7 separate regions of the Homo sapiens genome follow, and regions 1, 2, 4, 5, 6 and 7 are each linked to region 3. Evidence: promoter capture Hi-C in human tissues and cell types (Jung and others, 2019). All regions are on one chromosome and are shown on one strand. Each heading gives the region's core, a stretch centred on a gene start or on the middle of the fragment in contact. The rest is flanking DNA. Distances are from core to core; before and after follow the strand shown.

Region 1 (3,071 bases), core at 181-2,680, 1.1 Mb after region 3:
TCTTAGCCAGGATGGTCTCGATCTCCTGACCTCGTGATCCACCCACCTCGGCCTCCCAAAGTGTTGGGATTACAGGCGTGAGCCACCGCGCCTGGCCTTTTTTTTTTTTTTTTAGTAGAGACAGAGTTTCTGCACGTTGGCCAGGCTGGTCTTGAACTCCCGACCTCAGGTGATCCACCTGCCTCGGCCTCCCCAAGTGCTGGGATTATAGGCATGAGCCACCACGCCCGGCCTGAAATTGTTTTATTTCATTTTCAGTTTTGTTTTGTTTTTTTTTTTTTAATAGAGATGAGGTCTCACTATGTTGCATAGGCTGGTCTTAAACTCCTGAGCTCAAGCAATCCTCCTTCCTCAGCCTCCCACAGTGCTGGGTTTATAGGCATGAGTTACAATGCCTAGCCCATTTTTAGTATTTTATAGCTATAGTGGATAGAAATATAATTGATTTTTATATTGACTTGTGTCCTGCAAGCTTGCTGAACTAAATTTATTAGCTCTAATAGGTTTTTTTTTGTGTGTGTGTGGATTCCTTAGGATTTTCTATATATAAGATTGTATCTTCTACAGATACAGTTTTACTTCTTCCTTTCCAATTTGGAAGCCTTTTGTTTTATTTTCTTGCTTAATTGCCCTGGTTCAAACCTCTAGTACCATGTTGAATAGAAATGATGGGACTGGGCATCCTTGTTAGGTTTTGTTATTAAGGAGAAAGTGTTCGGTCTTTCACCTTTAAATATAATATTAGCTGTGGGGTTTTCATCAGGTTAAGGAAATTTTTTTTTTTTTTTTTTTTTTTTTTAGATAGTGTCTCACTTGGTCACCCAGGCTGGAGTGCAGTGGCGCAATCTTAGCTCTCTACAGCGTCGATCTTCCTCCTGGGCTCAAGCAATTCTCCTGCTTCATCCTCCTGAGTACCTAGGACTACAGGCAAGTGCCACCATGCTTGGCTAATTTTTGTATTTTTTGTAAAGATGATGTTTTGCCCTGTTGCCCAGGCTGGTCTCAAACTCCTGAGCTCAAGCAATCCGCCCACCTCAGCCTCCCAAAGTGCTGAGATTACAGGCATGTGCCACTGAGCCTGGCTGAGGAAGTTTCTTTTTGTTCTTAAATGGCTTTCTTTTTTTTTTTTTTTTTTCGTAAAAGGATGTTGGATTTTGTCAAATGCAATTTCTGCACCTTTTGAAATGATTGTTTTAGTTCTTATTGTATATCATGTTGATTGATTTTTGTATGTTGAACCAGCCTTGCATTCTTAGAATAAATCCCACTTGGTCAAGGTGTATAATCTTTTTGTGTATGTTAAATGATATTTAATGTATAATAAATTTAAACCTTTCTTTGCCCCAACAGAAAATGATCCACAGTCTATTTCTCATAAACTGTTCCGGTGACATATTTCTAGAGAAGCACTGGAAGAGCGTTGTGAGCCAGTCTGTCTGTGATTATTTCTTTGAAGCTCAAGAGAAAGCTGCTGATGTTGAAAATGTACCACCTGTCATTTCAACACCTCACCACTACCTCATCAGTATCTACCGGGATAAGCTCTTCTTTGTATCTGTCATACAGACCGAAGTGCCACCTCTCTTTGTAATTGAGTTCCTACATCGAGTTGCTGACACTTTTCAGGTTGGTTATCTATCATACCTTTCTAAGTTAAATGACCCAAGTTAGCTGAAGGTGAGACATGATTATATTATTTAATTACCCAGGTTTTGATGTTTACTGTCTGTCTCTCTCTGTTTAAGCGTAAATTCATAAGCCCTTTTCTGTGTGGTATACAGTTACACACATGGCTGCTCTATTCACTATTTTTTATATGTATTACAGATTACAGTTGGCTCTCCATATACATGGGTTCTGCATCCATAAAGTCACCCAACCTTACATGGCAAATATTTGAACAAAAAAATCGAACTGAACATGTACAAACTTCTTCTCATTATTACTTGAACAATACAGTATAACAAATAGTTACATAGCATTTACACTGTGTTAGATATTACAAGTAATCTAGAGGTGATTTAAAGTATATAGGAGGATGTGTATAAGTTATGTGCAAATACTATGCCATTTTATGTCAGCGACTTGAGAATTGTGAACTTTGGTATCTACAGGGGATCCTGGAACTAATTCCCACAAATACCAAGGGATGACTGTATATCATCAGGAAACAATAATGCCCTCCGCATACAGTTCTCTCAATGGTCTCAAGATTTTCATTGGTTATGAACTCTTCTATATTTACATTTTATTATTTTGTCTTGCGGAATATACCAAATAATTTAAGCTTATCTATATGTATTTTGGGATAATCAGGGTGAATGAAGTTTATAGCTCAAATTCCAATTTAATGTTTCAATACTTTCTGGTATAATATGTAATAGGAATTAAATTCAACCTAGAAATATCAAGAAAATATTGAGGAATAATATTAGGACTATAGAGGGGTTTTTTTTGTTTGCTTGTTTTGTTTTGTTTTGTTTTGTTTTGTTTGAGACGGAGTCTCACTCTGTTCCCTAGGCTGGAGTGCAGTAGCATGATCTTGGCTCACCGCAACCTCCGCCTCCCGGGTTCAAGCAATCCTCCCGCCTCAGCCTCCCAAGTAGCTGGGACCACAGGTGTGCACCATCACACTCAGCTAATTTTTGTATTTTTAGTAGAGACAGGGTTTCACCATGTTGGCCAGGCTGGTCTTGAATTCCTGACCTCAAGTGATGCATCCGCCTCAGCCTCCCAAATTGCTGGGATTACAGGCATGGGCCACCATGCCCGGACTATAGAGGGTTTTTTCCCCCGCTCTGTTTTATATATGTTCAGCAGCTTAAGCAATGAATTATGCTACTCTAAGTTTATTCTTCAGAACAAAAAGTATTTAGCAGGCCTTTCTTTTTGCCTTCCATTGTGTGATATTTTGTGTGTATTTTGTCAGGACTACTTTGGTGAGTGTTCAGAGGCTGCAATTAAGGATAATGTGGTCATAGTATATGAACTCTTAGAAGAAATGTTAGACAATGGATTTCCACTGGCTACCGAATCTAACATTTTGAAAGAATTGATTAAACCACCAACAA
Region 2 (2,754 bases), core at 245-2,744, 1.1 Mb before region 3:
AGCACCCTGAGCTAGTCTTGGACCTTGCCTTGTTAGAGGCAAGGAGACCTCAGCAGAGAGAAGTCCCTAGATGATTCATTTATCATCAAAAGAGAATCACCCACAAAAAAGAGGACCCTAGTGATAAGCGTCCAAATCATGAAACAGCTTTCAGAGAAGAAAGGCCAGTCTTAAGCATCTGCCAGTAGAAAAGCAAATCAATACCAGGTTGGGACCAGCCAAGCAAATTTGATCCTGGCTCCTACTTCTCTTCTCTTCCCCTATCCAACTCACCTAGCATATGGAAGAATAAAGGAGAAAGAAGTTACTCAGCCCACTTCTCCCCCTGTAGCAAGCTCTTGATGGTGCCAGAAGATGCATTACCCATGGATGAATTTCAGAGTTTTGATTATTACCCTAGACTATACTTATTTATAGCATAACCAACACTGTTTGGAAACTCAGGTAACCAATGAGAGGAGTTATTACTACCAAAGAGTGAGTGGCAGGCTCTGAGCACTAGCTAGGATATGATTCCAGGGCAGAAGATCTAGCCCTGCAAGTAGATTCACAGAAGCAGTTGTGAGAAAAAAAAATAAAGTGTGTTTGACTCCAAAATGAAACACTAAACTCATACTGTGTTAACAGCACCAATGGCTTTCTATAAAGTATCTGAGGACAATCCTGTCATTTTGTGACCCAAAACCCCACTGCAAGAAGGAGAAAGAGAACCACTACCTCGAATTTTCATGGCATCTTCAGGTCCAGCATCTCAATTGACACATCCCTACAAGGTCACTGGGTAGCAATAACTGTTCCCACTTGACAAAGGAAAAAACTAAGGATCAAATCTGACTTGACTTATCTAATGTCTGAAAGCTCAGGCAATGACACGATCCAAATTTTAGAACTCTTGCAGGTCCTGCTGGGGTGATCTAGCATCTCATCTTGGAATGTGCGACCAGTTGATTCCTATTAATTGTGGCTTCAGCTGAACTTGAAGAGTCCCATTTTAATATTTTATCACATTTGAAACTCCTTGTTCAGTGGTTTTACAAACTTACAGTAGTCCCCCTTTGTCTGTAGAGGACACATCAGGACCACTAATGGATGCCTGAAACCACATGTAATACTGAACCCTATAGACAGACCTTCCATCCTCAACTTATAATGGGTTGACCTACAATTTTTCAAATTTACTACAGTACAAAAATGATATACATTTGGTGTGCTCTCCACTTACTATATATAGTATGTATACTATGTTTTTCCTATACATTCAGACCTATGTTAAGTTTAATTTATAAATTAGGCACGGTAAGAGATTTACAATAATAATAATAAAATAGAACAATGATAACAATATACTATAATAAAAGTTATACGAATATAGTCTTTCTCTCTCTCACAAAATATCTTATTTTTGGACTGCAGTTGATCGTGGGTAACTGAAACTGTGGAAAGCAAAAATGCAGATAAGGGGAGCCTACAATATATGCTATTTTCTTTAAAAGACAGGATAAGGGGTCACTTGCAAACACTGGAATCCATTTCTCTAACATGATTGGAAAGGACTTCATAGTGAATACAAATGAAATAATTATAGCTGTTAGGTAAGGTTTGTAGATAGCAACATCAGCTTTGAAATAGAGTCAAAAGCAAGATAAAAACAATATGACCCCAGGCACAGAGGATTAAAGCCATGCTCCAAACCCAGGCTGGCAGCTCTTTATAGCTGGATGGGTTTTTTGTTTGTTTGTTTTGTTTTTTTTTACCCTTATATAATTTTAGGGGGAGGGTCTCTTTGATTACACTAAAGCAAATAAAATCTTGTGTACGAGGAATTCTTTTGGCATAAAGCACAAGCCCTATTACTACTTTTTTTGCTGGCATAAAATCTAAGAAAAGCCTCAAGGTGCAAATGATCTGCAGTCTATTTAACATCATGGTTTTTTATTTTTATGGGACCTCATTATTGCTCCTTACCCTAAATTATAGGTACAGTCTTGGCTCCATTTCCCACTGTGCTGCAAGCTCCAGATACTGTTATTTGTCTACATTTCCAAATACTCTTCAATACTTCTTCAATCAAACATTTGTCATCTCGTAGATGGGATATGTTGAACCAAGGCAAGGATCTATGGAACCCTTAAGTTAAGCCACTGCTATAGGCCCAGTTCTCAACCAGAAGTGCCATATGTCTATCAAAATTATGAAAGGAAATTCCCAGGTTGCAGCATTTTACAAAAATGGAGTCCTCTGCTCCATGTTAAACTAGCATTTAAATGTCCAGGTTTTCCCTGGAAAACAGATTTAGGGGAATAATCAAAGCAAACTCTCCCGGCCTTGCAAGAGACCTAGACAGCCAAATACAAGAAGCAAAAGAACACCTGGGAAATTAATCACAAAAAGATCTCTGCCTAAGAACATTGTCATCAGGTTATCCAAATTTAAGATGAAGGAAAGAATCTTAAGAGCTATGAGACAGAAGCACCAGGTAACCTATAAAGGAAAACCTATCAGATTAACAGCAGATTTCTCAGCAGAAACCCTACAAGCTAGAAGGGATTGGGGACCTATCTTCAGGCTCCTCAAACAAAACAATTATCAGGCAAGAATTTTGTATCTAGTGAAACTAAGCATCATATATGAAGGAAAGATACAGTTGTTTTCAAACAAATGCTGAGAGAACTCACCATTACCAAACTACCACAACAAGAACTGATAAAAGGAGCTCAAAATCTTGAACCAAATCCTGGAAGCACATCAAAACAG
Region 3 (2,743 bases), core at 67-2,566:
TAGCTGGGCACAGTGGTGACCGCCTGTGGTCCCAGCTACTTGGGAGGCTGAGGCAAGAGGATTGCTGAGCCTGGGAGCTCGATGCTGCAATAAGCAGTAATCTTGCCACTGCACTTCAGCCTTGCCAGAGACCTTGCCAAAAAAAAAAAAAAGAACACCAACGCCAGGCACAATGGCTCAGGCCTGTAATCCCAGCACTTTGGAAGGACGAGGCAAACAGATCACTTGAGGCCAGGAGTCTGACACCAGCCTGGCCAAAATAGCAAAACCCGTCTCTACAAAAAATACAAAAATTAGTTGGGTGTAGGGGTGCGTGCCTGTAGTCCCAGCTACTCCAGAGTCTGAGGCAGGAGAATCGCTTGAATCAGGAGGTGGAGGTTGCAGTGAGACCAGATTGTGCCACTGCACTCCAGCCTGGGTGACAGAGCGAGACTCAGTCTCAAAAAAAAAAAAAAAAAGGACAGCGTCAGCGTCTTTCACCTCCTCCGGAGTTTGGCGCATGGTAGGGGTTCAATCAGTGTTCTCTGGACAGTGTTTCAACAGAACAACCTTGCAAGGGAGCTTCACCGGCTTTCTCCCCAAGATGTCTTCATTCCAACCTACCAACATAACAGCAGCTGCCACTTATGTATTGTGCTACTGTGTGCGAAGCTGTGGGATCTGGTGCCTTTTATGGTAAGATTGTAGGCCTCATTTTACAGGAAGGAAACTGAGGCTCAGAGAGACTGGCAGGACCAAGATTAGACACTCGTATCCATCTGGCCCCCAAAAGCAGGATTTTAACAGCTAAGAATATGGTCTCAGTTCCACAGGCCCACCCCAGGGCTCCTGAACCCCAATTCGAGGCTGCATGCCCTCAAACCAGTTCCCTCACTCCTTCAGCCTGATGCTTTGGGGCATCTTGTCCAGGAGGCCTTCCCCCTTTAATCTCTATCTCTTGTACTTGTGACTATCTTGTAACTTACACTGGCGCCCTCCATACACAATTCACATATGCCCCCAAGGGGCCTCAGAATAAATGGTGGCGAGGAGAAAAAAGCATTGGCAGGAGGGGAATGGAGGCAGGCACCTGGACTGCGGGCACAGGCGGGAAAATTCAGATCTAGGCGCTTGGCCTGCTCCCCGCAGGGGCGCAGTTCCCGGCGCGGCCACCAGATCGCGCCCGGCTCTCTCGGGCGGGGCTTGCAGTAAGGCTGTGTGGCCGCCAGATGATGCCCGAGACCGCGGCTCCGCGGGTAGTGCCCCGACAAGGTGGAGCCCGGCGGGCCCGCGAGTCCGAGACCTGTCCCAGGAGCTCCAGCTCACGTGACCTGTCACTGCCTCCCGCCGCCTCCTGCCCGCGCCATGACCCAGCCGGTGCCCCGGCTCTCCGTGCCCGCCGCGCTGGCCCTGGGCTCAGCCGCACTGGGCGCCGCCTTCGCCACTGGCCTCTTCCTGGGTGAGCAGGACCTGGTCCCGGCGGGCGGGTGGGCGGGCGCAGAGTAGGGCGCGGCGTGGCTCAGGTTAATCCAACACCCTCTCCCCGTCAGGGAGGCGGTGCCCCCCATGGCGAGGCCGGCGAGAGCAGTGCCTGCTTCCCCCCGAGGACAGCCGCCTGTGGCAGTATCTTCTGAGCCGCTCCATGCGGGAGCACCCGGCGCTGCGAAGCCTGAGGCTGGTCAGCAGGGCGCGGGACGGAAACGGGCGTCCCTCTCGACCCCTGCGGGTCCCACGTGGCTGTGTGACCTTGGGCTGGGCCCTGGCCCTCCCTGGGCTTCCGGCTTCCCTGGGCCGGGTGCGGTGGGCGTTCCGAAGGGCCAGTCCCCCAGGCCACGCCCAGAACCGCGCCCCTGGGGCTTGGGACCCCCAGGGCGAAGGTGGGTGACCTGCATGGCTGGTGCCACCCTCTCCTTTCACGCAGCTGACCCTGGAGCAGCCGCAGGGGGATTCTATGATGACCTGCGAGCAGGCCCAGCTCTTGGCCAACCTGGCGCGGCTCATCCAGGCCAAGAAGGCGCTGGACCTGGGTAGGGGCACGCGGCCGGGATCCCGGAGGGCCGAGGTTTCCGGGCCGACCCCCACTCTGGGCTGAGCCCGTCTGTGTCCTGGTCCCAGGCACCTTCACGGGCTACTCCGCCCTGGCCCTGGCCCTGGCGCTGCCCGCGGACGGGCGCGTGGTGACCTGCGAGGTGGACGCGCAGCCCCCGGAGCTGGGACGGCCCCTGTGGAGGCAGGTGAGCGCCCGCGCCTAGCTCTGCAGCCCCAGGCGGGGGCGCAACGGCTGACCCGCTCCCTCCGCAGGCCGAGGCGGAGCACAAGATCGACCTCCGGCTGAAGCCCGCCTTGGAGACCCTGGGTGAGCACCGAAGCGGGAAGGGCTTTGAAGCCATTCATTGCAAACGAGGCTGCTGTGTGGCCGAGCTGTGACTGGGCCTGCCGGGCAGGTTAAGGGCAGGGCCGGTTGTCACAGAGCCCGGGCCGGCCTGGGAGGGGCCTCAGGGCCGCCGGGGCCGCGGACTCAGCCGCACCTGCCCTCCCTCCCCCCGCAAGACGAGCTGCTGGCGGCGGGCGAGGCCGGCACCTTCGACGTGGCCGTGGTGGATGCGGACAAGGAGAACTGCTCCGCCTACTACGAGCGCTGCCTGCAGCTGCTGCGACCCGGAGGCATCCTCGCCGTCCTCAGAGTAAGGGATCCACTGCGGGGGAGGAGAAAGCACCCTGTCGGGCCGGGTCCCCATCTTTTCCCTTGACTCCTCTTATACCC
Region 4 (2,851 bases), core at 330-2,829, 1.4 Mb after region 3:
TAAACAGAGAAATGGGCATCCTGCATATCAGTGATGGAGCGCCTCTACTTTCTCTCCTGAAGGGATGGAAGCCGACTGCAGGTCCCTCTGTGCAAAGGCTTCTGCCAGGCGGCTTTTGTCACGCGGTCACGTTGAGCTGTGGGCCTTAGCACACACAACACTGGCCTGTCCCCCTCCCCTCCCACCTGTCTTCCTAGAGTGACTTGGGGTGCTGCATCATGGTGTGGGGATGGAGGTGGGAAGGTTGCCCTGTCCTGTCAGGGAGGCCCCTGCCTTCTTCCTGCTGCTTCCTCTGGTCCCTTGTCACCATACCCTTGTTCGAAGCTGTGCTGAAACCCTAGAGGTGAGTGGCTGACCCCATTCTCTGCTGAGACTGGAGATAGGGAAGGGGAGGCTGGGTGTGACCATTCCTGCTCCCATCTGTATGCTTGCTGCTCTCTGAACAGCTTTGGCAGACCAACAAGGGCCTGATCCCATGGGTGCCAAAAGGGTGGTGACAGGAGGAGATGGGCACTTTGCACCTCTTGAATGCCTCTCTGCAGAGCCCCTTTGTCACCTACCCATGGCCAGACAGATCTGCCGCAGGACCGCTGGGGAAATCAAAGCACAAAAGCTTTGTCTGGGGTCTTTTTTTTCTTTTTTGGTTTTGTGCTGCAGGTGCCCATGACTTTGCCAGGGCTCAGACCCAGCGTCCTCAGGCCGTGTGGCCTCCACCCACTCCTTGGCGCCTTTCTTTAAAACACAGGTTCTGGATACTTTGTTCCTGTGATGAATCTTGGCATATCACCTCACACCTCTCCATCTAGGCCCCAAGCTCCAAGCCTGGTGGAGCAAATCCCTCCTCGTTGCTGGCTGAGGCCCCATTCCCGTCTGTACCCACCTCTCTGGGCTGTGCGGTGGGGAGATTTCCAGCCACTCCTCCCCAACACCATCTCCGCTTCCTGGGCCCTATCAGCAGCAGCCGCAGCTTCCCATCTGCTCCCCTCTTTTCTCCTCCCTTTCTTTCCCTTCCCCCCTGCTTGCTGCTGCCCTGGGAGGAGCTATTTTTAGGGGCTGCTTCCTGGGATGTTTTACTTGGGGCTGGTTACCATGAAGGAAATGTCACCAAAACAGTGGGCAAAGGCTGCAGGCACCGGGAGCCCTGCCGGGGGGCATGGAGAACAGACGGCTGACCCTTTTCTGGCCCTTGAGAGCAGCCAGAGTGCCCCCAGGCAGAGCCTTGCCTTCTTGGGGCTTGCTAGTGACCCCTTGGGGATTTTCTCTGTCAAAGCTGATTGAGGGCCTTTTCGCTATAGGGCATTTCTTGGAGCCTCTCGCTTCCCTTGCCTTGAGATCCAGAGGCCAAAGTGGGGCTCAGGTCTTTGTGTCACCAAGTTAAAACTGCTTGAGTGAGGGTTGAAGATAAGGGGAGGATGCTGGGTACATGCACAGAGCCTTGGGGGTTCACATGGGACCATTTCAGGCCCCGTCCCTCTGTATCACAGCCCCCAGCTAGTCACCAGGTGTACATGTGTGAGGGCATTAGAAACCATGGTCCTGCTCTTGTGTGTCGGATGGACTTTGCTTTTAATTGGAGACTCTTTGCATCTTTAGAGTGAGATTCAAAGAGGAAGGGATGTGGCATCACAGTGTCAGGGTGAGGTCGGTGGGATCGTGGCTTGGGATTCCCACTGGTCAGTGTCCCAGGCCCAGGGCTGTGCATAAGCAGCTGGGGAAGGTGGATTATGACATCAAATCCCTGCGATGTCCTTGTTTCTGCTCCTCAGAGTGCCAAGGGGACCAGACGGCGGCCTCTGCTGCTTGGGAAGAAGATGAAAGGCACTCAGGAGGGCAGCAAGTGAGGCCGCCTCCCATGGAGCCCTGAAATCAGTGGGGTTGCAGGAAGTTTCTCACATCCATGTTTAGGGTCATAGGCACAGACCTGCAAAATACCCTTTACAAAGTTAAGAATGTCTTTGAGATTGGAACTTGGGAGAGTCCTCAGTCAGAGTAGGAATGTGCATCCTTTCCCACGTACAGAGGATTGTATGTTTACGTGGCAGCAGGATCTTATTTGAAGCTAGTGCTGGCATTTGTGTTTTTTTTTTAGGAAAATGTCACTAAGTCAAGCAGGCCCATCCCTGAGAGGGCCATGGAGAATCTGTGGCCAGCCCTCCCTGGCCCCCTGACCTGGCAGAGGAAGGAAAGGGCATTGGAGTAGGCTTCTGTCTTCAGGCCAGAGGGGGAGGTGGTTCAGGGGCAGGCTTGGTGCACCCCTTGGCTGCAAGCTATCACCTCCCTATCTGCTTCCTCTTTTCTGCCTCCCCTGGTGCATCTGGTCACTTCTTGCTGCCCTTCCTGTGAAATCGTGGCACCTTGGACCAAGTCCTGAAGCACTTGGGCAGAAGGCGGGAGAGGTTGGGTTTCTAGGATCCTTGTTTCCCAGGGCCTGGCTCTGGCCTGGGCTCAGACCACTCTGGTCTAGGCAGGCTGCTGGGGAAAGGCTGGAGCTGCTTCTGCTTTCTGCTCCTGTTGCCACCTCTGCTAATGATGGGGAAAACCTGCAGAGGGCTGTGGTTGGAGCTGGGCTGAAGGCCGGCAGGGGTGGGTCTCTCCATGGCAGTAGCACACAGGCAGGCAGGAAGTGGCCCTGTGCAAAAGCGGGAAGTGGCAGTTGTCAAACAGGAAGGGGGGGGCTGGGCTGTGGGAGGGGCGGGGATGAGCCTGGTAGAAAGGTGCGTGGAGGAGGGTCCACCTTGGAAGGTCTGAGCCTCTCCCTAGTGGTTACTGGAAGGAGGGGTGTCTCAAGGGGAGACACCTTTGCAGCACCTTGAGATGCCGAGCCAGGGCCCTCCCACTGTGGACCAAGCCC
Region 5 (2,771 bases), core at 164-2,663, 1.1 Mb after region 3:
ACACACACATACACACACACACACACACACACACACACCCCTACCTGCATGCACGCACACACCCCTACCTGCATGCACGCACACAACAGACGGGCAGACAGTGAGAATGTATCCAAGGCCAGCCCAAATCTCCACCTCTGATACAGTGATTGTAATGCAGGGCAGGTAAGCCCCAGAACTGGGGCTTAGCCCAGGACGGTGCTTGGCTTCATCCAGGAAAAAATTCAAGGGTCAGCCAGTGGTGTGTCAGCAACTTTTATTGAAGCAGCAGTGTAAAGCATCGGCAGAGGTACTGCCCCTTGCAGAGCAGGGCTACCCCATAGGCAGTATGCCCAGAGTAGCAGCTCAGAAGCAGTTCTGTGGTCATATTTATACCCAATTTTAATTATATACAAATTAAGAGGCAGATTATGCAGAAATTTCTAGGAAAAGGGTGGTAACTTCCAGGACACTGTCATGAAAAGGGACGCTAACTTCTGGGTGTTGCCGTGGCAATGGGAAACTGACATGGCACATTAGTAGGTGTGACTTACGGAAAGCTGATTCCACTCTGTCCCTGTTTTAGCTAGTCCTCAATTTGGTCCAGTGTCTGAGCCCCACCTCCTACCTCAACTGGTTCAAGGTAGTGTGTAACACAGGCAGAACCAAATTTCTCTCAAAACTGATACAAGCATATAGAAAAACTCTCTTCCTTTGGACTCATGAGATTTTGGCTTGGAGTTGAGAACTGCCATCTTGTTACACTGAAATGGCCTACGTGAGAGATAAATTGAATCTAAAGGACAACAGAGACAAGCGGTGAACTCCTAGATTGAGTCATATTTAGATGGACTTTAGGCCAGGTGCTGTGGCTCACACCTGTAATCCCAGCACGTTGGGAGGCCAAGGCAGGTGGATCACCTGAGGTCAGGCATTTGAGACCAGCCTGGCCAACATTGTGAAACCCTGTCTCTACTAAAAATACAAAAAGTAGCTGGGCATGGTGGTGCATGCCTGTAATCCCAGCTGCTCGGGAGGCTGAGGCAGGAGAGTTGCTTGAACCCAGGAGGCGGAGGTTGCAGTGAGCTGAGATCGTGCCACCGCACTCCAGCCTGGGTGACAGATCAAGACTCCATCTCAAAAAAAAAAAAATTAGATGGACTTTCCAGTTAGGTTGAGTCAACTGAGTCTTTCAGAGATTTCAAAATGGTTCTAAGTATGAACCAAAGTCTAGCCTAAGCATGTAGAAGGCAAGTAGCCAAGTGACCACTTCAATATAATTTCTGATAATCCCTAATTCAGTGAGTGACCAATGATCACACAGGCTACCTTCACATCTGCAATCCTGTTTGCAGGTAACATAGTAAAATAGCAGGACTCACTACTAACCAAATGTGGCTTGCTGACAAAATGGTTAAGACCATGTTAATACAGTAACCAAACTGTTGTGCCTACAGAAGGCAAGAATTTCTTACATAATTGCTATACATATATATCTTCTAAATTGTAAAGAAAATACTAAAGTCAGCATGCATGCAATGAAAGTAAAAATGCAAATAGAAACTCAGATGTTCTTATATCAAAGGCTAATCACATTGCTTCTAGATCTGAAGTGTATGAACCAAATTTTTAAAGAAATGGTACGAAGCCAAAAGTACAAACAACATCAGAAATAATACACATAAATGAGAGCAAAAACTCTAAATCTGCTTTGATAAATCATCAGAATGTATCTTCTTCAAGCAGTATGTGAAACTTCAGTTTGGGAGACCATTTTGTAAAACAGCCTTCCAAATCTTCAAGTCCAAAAGTTGAAGAGAAGTCTGTCTTTTCAGTTACTACTGGAGAGGAAGAAAAGCCTAATAACTCAGTGACATCAACTGTACTGGTATTACAGTAGAGCTAGCCAAAAAGTATCTTTGAAATGAGCATCTACTTAGTATCATAGAAGTGCAGAACAGTGACTAGAGAAAAAAATCTAGGAACTAACTCTGATGAGAAATTATTGTTCCTGCACAGTAGCCAACTTTTAAAAGTAAACTATAAATAAGTAATAAAAGTCCACAAACCCTTTCTTAAATCCTTGGGGCAGGGTATGTTTTGGAATTCAGAATTTTATGGATTTTAGGAAGGTAACACTGCACTATATATTTTGTAGAACACCCAGGAGGAATTCATGTGGCATGTCATTAACAGCCTAATATTTCCATAGCAAAGCATATACATTTGTGTCAGACAAATAAATACTACTGACACCTTTACATCAGTTCAAATTTTGCTGCCAAATTAATTCATCTCAAACTTTTTAAAAAACTTCCAGCTTCCAGAGCTTTGGGATTTCAGAAATATAGCTTAAAAGATTATAGCCTACAATAAAGTCATAATAATTATGTTACCAAGTTTCAGAGGTATTTGGTATCCCAGAGGTCCATTCTGTAAAGATAATATTTAGCCACACAGCACTTGGCCACTTATATATTCAGTGTACTTCAAGTCTCTCCAACTTAAAAGCAAGATTCCTAATATGTTCAGTGTAGAAACATTGGAAAATACAAGTTTTTTTTTAAACCTCATAATTCTTCCACCTAAAGATGCCCACTATTAAATTTGGAGTGTCTAAATTTTCAGTCTTTCTATAATAGATACATTAATATAATTAGCAAGAAAATCTCTGAAGTTTTAGTTTATATTTTTGTTTCCATCTTACTAGATACATATAATGCCCTTTCAAGCTGAGAACTGGTCTTTCTTAAATTTTGGTAAATTCTCAGCCATCAGCTCTTCCAACCTGG
Region 6 (2,801 bases), core at 17-2,516, 1.2 Mb after region 3:
CAGATGTGTCTTTTCTCTATCTGCACTCCTACCACTGCCTGAAGGCAGCTCTTACTACCTCTTGCTTGAATGGATGGCTCTCCAACCCCAGTGTCTCACCAGCGCTCCAATCTATCTTCCTCAATACTACCAGGATTATTTTACCAAAATTTTATACATCAGCTTAAACACCTCTGTTTCGGGAGGGGAACATCACACACTGGGGCCTGTAGGGGGATGGGGGACAAGGGGAGGGAGAGCATTAGGACAAATACCTAATGCATGCGGGGCTTAAAACCTAGATGATGAGTTGATAGGTGTAGCAAACCACCATGGCACATGTATACCTATGTAACAAACCTGCATGTTCTGCATGTGTATCCCAGAACTTAAAGTAAAATAAAGTAAAAATAATAATAATACAAGATTTCTCTGTTTTCTAACATCCAATGCTTAGTATGTTCCTCTTCTAGAAATTATCCTGTAAATGTACTTGCACATACGTAAACTGACATATTTGTGTCATTCTTTGCCATGTTGTCTGAAACAGCAACAGATCACAAATAACCTTCCATAAGGGTCTAGTTTAATAAATTATCTACAACCATCAAGGGACTATTATTTAACTGTCAAAAGAAGAGAAAGTTCTGTAGATACAAGCAAGAAATGTTCCCCAAAACATGCAAAGGATGAAAAAAAAATCAAGAAACAGGACAAGACAGTATAACAGGTCTTCATTTGTATGAAAGGGGACTAGTTACTGCCAGATTGTGCACAAACTATCTCTAGAAGCATATCCAAGACATTGGGTTTCTTAAGTGCATCGGTTTCCTATGAGGAGGGAAACTGGGTGGCTGGAGTTCAAGGGGGAAAGGGAGACTTTTCACTGTATACCTTTACCTTTTAAATTTTGAACCAGGTGAATCCTATACCTATTCAAAAACTGAAGTTAGTTTTGTTTTTTTTAACTGATTTATGTCGTCTGAGTCCCTTCACAAGGGACACAATCCACCTTAACAGTCTCATTACTAAAGCTTCCCCATTCCCTAACTGCACATTCACACCCTTGTATCTTTGTATTCACTCTGCACAGAAGGTATTCCCATTTTCTCTGGCTGGCAAACTTCCTCATGCTTCAAACACTGCCTCTCTAAAGTGGAATGAACTTCCCTTCCTGCCTTACTGCCATATTATGCAAAAGGGCCTTTGGCCTGCTTTCATTCCATGTTTGCTCCTTGGCATCAGAGGCTAAGTTCACAGTCCTAGCCCAAGTCCGTCAGAAGCTTACATTCCAGCTGGGCACGGTGGCTTACACCTGTAATCCTAGCACTTTGGGAGGCCAAGGCAGGTAGATCACATGAGCCCAGGAGTTCAAGACCAGCCTGAGCAACATGGTAAAACCCCATTCTATAAAATAAAATAAAATAATACACATATATATATGTATTTATATATATATATATATATATATATCCTATATATATCCTCACATTTTACCAGATTTTTTTTTCTTTTTGAGACAGAGTCTCGCTCTGTTGCCCAGGCTAGAGGGCAGTGGCACGATCTCCAGCTCAAGCAATCCTCCCACCTCAGCCTCCCAAGTAGCTGGGACTACAGGCATACACCACCACGCCTAGTTAATTTTTATACTTTTTGTAGAGAAGGAGTTTCGTCATGTTGCCCAGGCTGGTCTCGGACTTCTACGCTCAAGCAATCTGCCTGCCTCAGCCTCCCAAAGTGCTGGGATTACAGGCATGAGCCACCTTACCCAGCCTTCACCAGATTTTAAAGGTGCCTTGCTATTCTCGCTCTGGTATTAAGCTCTTATAGTTTCTATACTCCAAGAAAAACAACAAGAACAACAAGAAATGACAATTTTAAGTATAATAAAATTGTATGTGTATAATATATACACATACACACAAAAATTAGCCAGACATGGTGGCATGCACCTGTAGTAGTCCCAGCTACTTGGGAGGCTGAGGTGGGAGGATGGCTTGAGCCTGGGAGGTTGAGGTTGTAGTGAGCTGAGATCATACCACTGCACTCCAGCCTGGGCAACAAAACCAGACCCTGTCTCAAAAAAAAAAAAAGAAAGAAAGAAAGAAAAAGCAGCAGCAGCAGCTTACACCCTTCAGAGACAGAGTTCAGGCCTCTTAAGATATTAAACATATGATGAAATAGCAGCATTATTCACAATAGCCAAAAGGTGGAAGCAATCCAAATGTCCATCAATGGATGAATGGGTAAACAAATGTGGTATGCACATACAATGGAATATAATTCAGCCTTAAAAAGGAAGGAGGCCGGGCGCGGTGGCTCACGCCTGTAATCCCAGCACTTTGGGAGGCCGAGGCGGGCGGATCACGAGGTCAGGAGATCGAGACCATCCCGGCTAAAACGGTGAAACCCCGTCTCTACTAAAAATACAAAAAATTAGCCGGGCGTAGTGGCGGGCGCCTGTAGTCCCAGCTACTTGGGAGGCTGAGGCAGGAGAATGGCGTGAACCCGGGAGGCGGAGCTTGCAGTGAGCCGAGATCCCGCCACTGCACTCCAGCCTGGGCGACAGAGCGAGACTCCGTCTCAAAAAAAAAAAAAAAAAAAGGAAGGAAATTCTGACATATGCTACAACTTGGATGAACCTTGAAGACATTATTCTAAGTGAAATAAGCCAATCACAAAAGGACAAATACTATATGATTTCACTTATATAGAGCATATCATATACTATATGTTATACAGTATATACAAACACTGTATGATTCCACTTACATAGAGTAGTCAAATTCACAGAGACAGAAAGAATGGTGGTTGCTGGGCTA
Region 7 (2,815 bases), core at 132-2,631, 1.2 Mb before region 3:
TGATTTACCCAGTTAAATTTATTGAGGCTTGTTTTATGGCCTAATATATGGTCTATCCTAGAGACTATTCCATGTTCTTGAGAAGAGTGTGCATTCTGATGTTGCTGGGTGGAAGGTCTACAGATGTCTGGTAGGTCAAGTTGGTTTATAGTGTTGTCCAAGTCTTCTATTTCCTTGATATTTTGTCTAGTTGTTCTATCTGTTATTAAGAGTGGGGTATTGAACACTACAACTATTATTGTTGAAAGCTTATTTTTCCCTTCTGGTCTGTCAGTTTTTCCTTCGTGTATTTTGGGGCTCTGTGGCTATGTAGCCATGTCTATATGTTTATGATTGTTTTACATACCTGACAAATTGACACTTTTATCATCACAAAATGTCCTCTTTTACTCTAGTAACTTTTTCTGTCTTAAAGTCTATTTTTTTCTGCTATTCGTATAGCCACTCCAATTTTCTTATTGTTGTTGTTTGCATGATACATCTTTTCAATTCTTTTACTTTCAAACTATCTGTATCTTTGAATCTAAAGTGTGTGTTTTATAAACAACCTATAGTTGGATTTTGTTTTTTTATCCATTCTGAAAATCTCTGACTATTGATTCAGTTGCTTAATCCATTTATATTTGATATTATTATTTATATAGGATTTACATATTCCATTTCAGTTGTTTCCTATATGCCCCATGTGTGTTTGCTTCCCTGTTCCTTCTTTACTGCTTCCTTTTGCTTTAAGTGAATATTTCTAGTGTAATATAATTTCTTTAATAATTTTTCGCTATATTTTGAGTTATTTTATTAGATTTTATTAGTGGTTAACTCATCAGAATCTCTTTCAGATATATGCTAACTTAATTTCACAAAAAATTTTAAAATTGCACCTATATAGCTCTGTTCCATCTTCCTCCTTTTGTGCTAATATTGTTATACACATTATATTTAAATATATTACAAACCTACCAATACATTTTATTATTTATATAATTTTATGTCTATTAAAGAAGCTAAGAGAATAGAAGAGAGTAAGCATATATTCATAGAGCTTGTTATATTTCCCTTTCTATTTATCATTTCTGATTCTTTTCATTTGTTCCTATAGATTTGGGTTACCATCTGGCGCCATTTCCTTACACCAATACAGGTTTCCTCCCACCCATCTCCATTGTGCTGTTACTGTCAAATATATTACATTTACATATAAGCCCAATAATATAATTACATACATATTATTTTATATAATTGCTTTTTTAGAGTTAATTATTTTTATTGTGGTTAACGTGCATAACAAAATTTACCATTTTTGTCATTATTGTGCATAATTCAGTGGTGTTAGGTACATTTAAAATTTTGTGTAACCATTACCAGTATACATTTCCAGAATATTTTTATTTTCCCAAAAGCAATTCTGTACCTATTAAACTATAACTGCCTACTCTTCTCTCCCTGGCAAGTCCTCACTCTTCCCTTCTGCTACCAGTCCTTGTTAACCTCTATTCTATTCTGCTTTCTGTCTCTATGTATTTGCCTATTTTAGATACCTCAATTAAGTGGATTCCTATAATATTTATCCTTTTGAGTCTAGCTTATTTCACTTAGAATAATCTTTTCCCAACTATATTGTATTATATATCAGTACATCATTCCTTTTTATGGCTGAATACTATTACATTGTACGTATATCCAACATTTTTTATCCATTAATCCCTTGATGGACATTTGGGTTGTTTCTACCTTTTGTCCATGTGAATAAGGCTGCTATGAACATAGGTGTACAAGTATCTGTTTGAGTTCTTGTTTTCAGTTCTTTGGGGTGTATACCTAGAAGTAAAAAATGCTAGATTATATGGTAATTCCATGCTTACGTACAATTGCTTTTTAAATTAGTTAAGGGCAGAAAGGAGAATATGTATTTATACTATCTTTTTATTATTATATAATTACCTTTACTGGTGCTTTTTGTTTATTCGTGTGGTTTTGAATTAATGTCTGGGGTGTACTGCTTTCAGCCTGTATTACTTCCCTTAGTATTTCTTGTAAAGGAAGTCTGCTAGCAAATAAAGCTTCTCAGTTTTTGTTTACTTAGAAATGTCTTTATTTCACCTTCATATTTGAAAGAGAGTTTTGCTGGATATAAGATTGTTGCTTGATAGTTTTTTTATTTTTTTTCCAGCACTTTGATTATGCCATCCTATTGGTTTCTGGTCTCCATTGTTTCTAATGAAAGCTAATTGTTAATCCATGATCATAGGGGAGAAGGGATGGGAAGTTGTTGGTTTAATCATTCTAGAGTTTCTTCTTGGGATGATGACAGTGTTTTGGAAAGAGATAGTGGTGATGATTGCACAATACTGTGAATGTTATAGATGCCACTGAATTGTACATGGGTAGGGGAAGTTTTTGAGGCTAGTCCTTTAGGTTTTTTGTGAACCCAGGAGAGTTCTTAGCTATCTGTTTCCATGGTTCTCTCTAGTAAACTTGCTTGCCTCTGGTGTAAGTTTTTGCTCTCATGGAGTTATTAGTCTCCTCTTAATTACCACCAAAATCTTCATTATGGAAGAAAGTACCCTTAGCCTTGAACTTCCCTCACTCTGTTTCAAAGACAGTTCCCCTAAGGAGAGCTTCAGAGCTTCAGAGCTCTATGTATTTATGGACTGCTCTCCCACTGAGAAAAACCTCCAAGCCACTGCTCCAGAGACTGAGGCAGATATGACACTCTCCAGTCTTCTCAGCTTGCCTCTCCCAGTGTGGACCCTCCACCCCATCATTCTTGAGCAAGAATGATGAGGGCCCAAGTGTTCTCAGTTAGCTTCACCTGTGG

What was found. The method cuts DNA at HindIII sites, captures the fragments that hold promoters and counts their contacts. A contact is called where the count stands out against the background at its distance.
Region 1: a fragment that was not itself captured here is called in contact with the fragment with the promoter of COMTD1 in region 3 in 2 of the 25 tissues and cell types used here (dorsolateral prefrontal cortex and spleen).
Region 2: a contact is called between a fragment that was not itself captured here and the fragment with the promoter of COMTD1 in region 3, in 1 of the 25 tissues and cell types used here (mesendoderm cells).
Region 4: a contact is called between a fragment that was not itself captured here and the fragment with the promoter of COMTD1 in region 3, in 1 of the 25 tissues and cell types used here (dorsolateral prefrontal cortex).
Region 5: a contact is called between a fragment that was not itself captured here and the fragment with the promoter of COMTD1 in region 3, in 1 of the 25 tissues and cell types used here (pancreas).
Region 6: a contact is called between a fragment that was not itself captured here and the fragment with the promoter of COMTD1 in region 3, in 1 of the 25 tissues and cell types used here (spleen).
Region 7: a contact is called between a fragment that was not itself captured here and the fragment with the promoter of COMTD1 in region 3, in 1 of the 25 tissues and cell types used here (pancreas).

What each region holds. Positions count from the first base shown.
Region 1 is chr10:74,136,662-74,139,732 of GRCh38, reverse strand. It overlaps AP3M1 (adaptor related protein complex 3 subunit mu 1), which reads left to right. Exons shown (of 9, transcript NM_012095.6): 2 at 1,351-1,626; 3 at 2,930-3,071. The coding sequence starts at 1,354. Among named protein-coding and RNA genes, the nearest start is that of AP3M1, 13 kb to the left of the region's middle. The HindIII fragment of the contact is 3,086 bases long and covers 1-2,973 here.
Region 2 is chr10:76,369,237-76,371,990 of GRCh38, reverse strand. The region is part of intron 6 of LRMDA (leucine rich melanocyte differentiation associated); the gene reads right to left. Among named protein-coding and RNA genes, the nearest start is that of KCNMA1-AS1, 520 kb to the left of the region's middle. The HindIII fragment of the contact is 6,210 bases long and covers 1-2,754 here.
Region 3 is chr10:75,234,530-75,237,272 of GRCh38, reverse strand. COMTD1 (catechol-O-methyltransferase domain containing 1) reads left to right here and starts at 1,316. Exons shown (of 7, transcript NM_144589.4): 1 at 1,316-1,438; 2 at 1,530-1,657; 3 at 1,901-2,006; 4 at 2,095-2,213; 5 at 2,281-2,335; 6 at 2,530-2,663. The coding sequence starts at 1,345. RefSeq lists silencers at 1,068-1,362, 1,398-1,537, 1,698-1,777, 1,908-2,197, 2,358-2,587. The HindIII fragment of the contact is 14,083 bases long and covers 1-2,743 here.
Region 4 is chr10:73,865,702-73,868,552 of GRCh38, reverse strand. All of the region lies in intron 2 of CAMK2G (calcium/calmodulin dependent protein kinase II gamma), which reads left to right. Among named protein-coding and RNA genes, the nearest start is that of CAMK2G, 7.4 kb to the left of the region's middle. The HindIII fragment of the contact is 6,019 bases long and covers 1-2,851 here.
Region 5 is chr10:74,157,958-74,160,728 of GRCh38, reverse strand. All of the region lies in intron 1 of ADK (adenosine kinase), which reads right to left. Among named protein-coding and RNA genes, the nearest start is that of ADK, 8.1 kb to the right of the region's middle. The HindIII fragment of the contact is 5,336 bases long and covers 1-2,771 here.
Region 6 is chr10:74,016,829-74,019,629 of GRCh38, reverse strand. The region is part of intron 1 of VCL (vinculin); the gene reads right to left. Among named protein-coding and RNA genes, the nearest start is that of VCL, 20 kb to the right of the region's middle. The HindIII fragment of the contact is 3,564 bases long and covers 1-2,801 here.
Region 7 is chr10:76,469,396-76,472,210 of GRCh38, reverse strand. The region is part of intron 6 of LRMDA (leucine rich melanocyte differentiation associated); the gene reads right to left. Among named protein-coding and RNA genes, the nearest start is that of KCNMA1-AS1, 420 kb to the left of the region's middle. The HindIII fragment of the contact is 3,660 bases long and covers 1-2,815 here.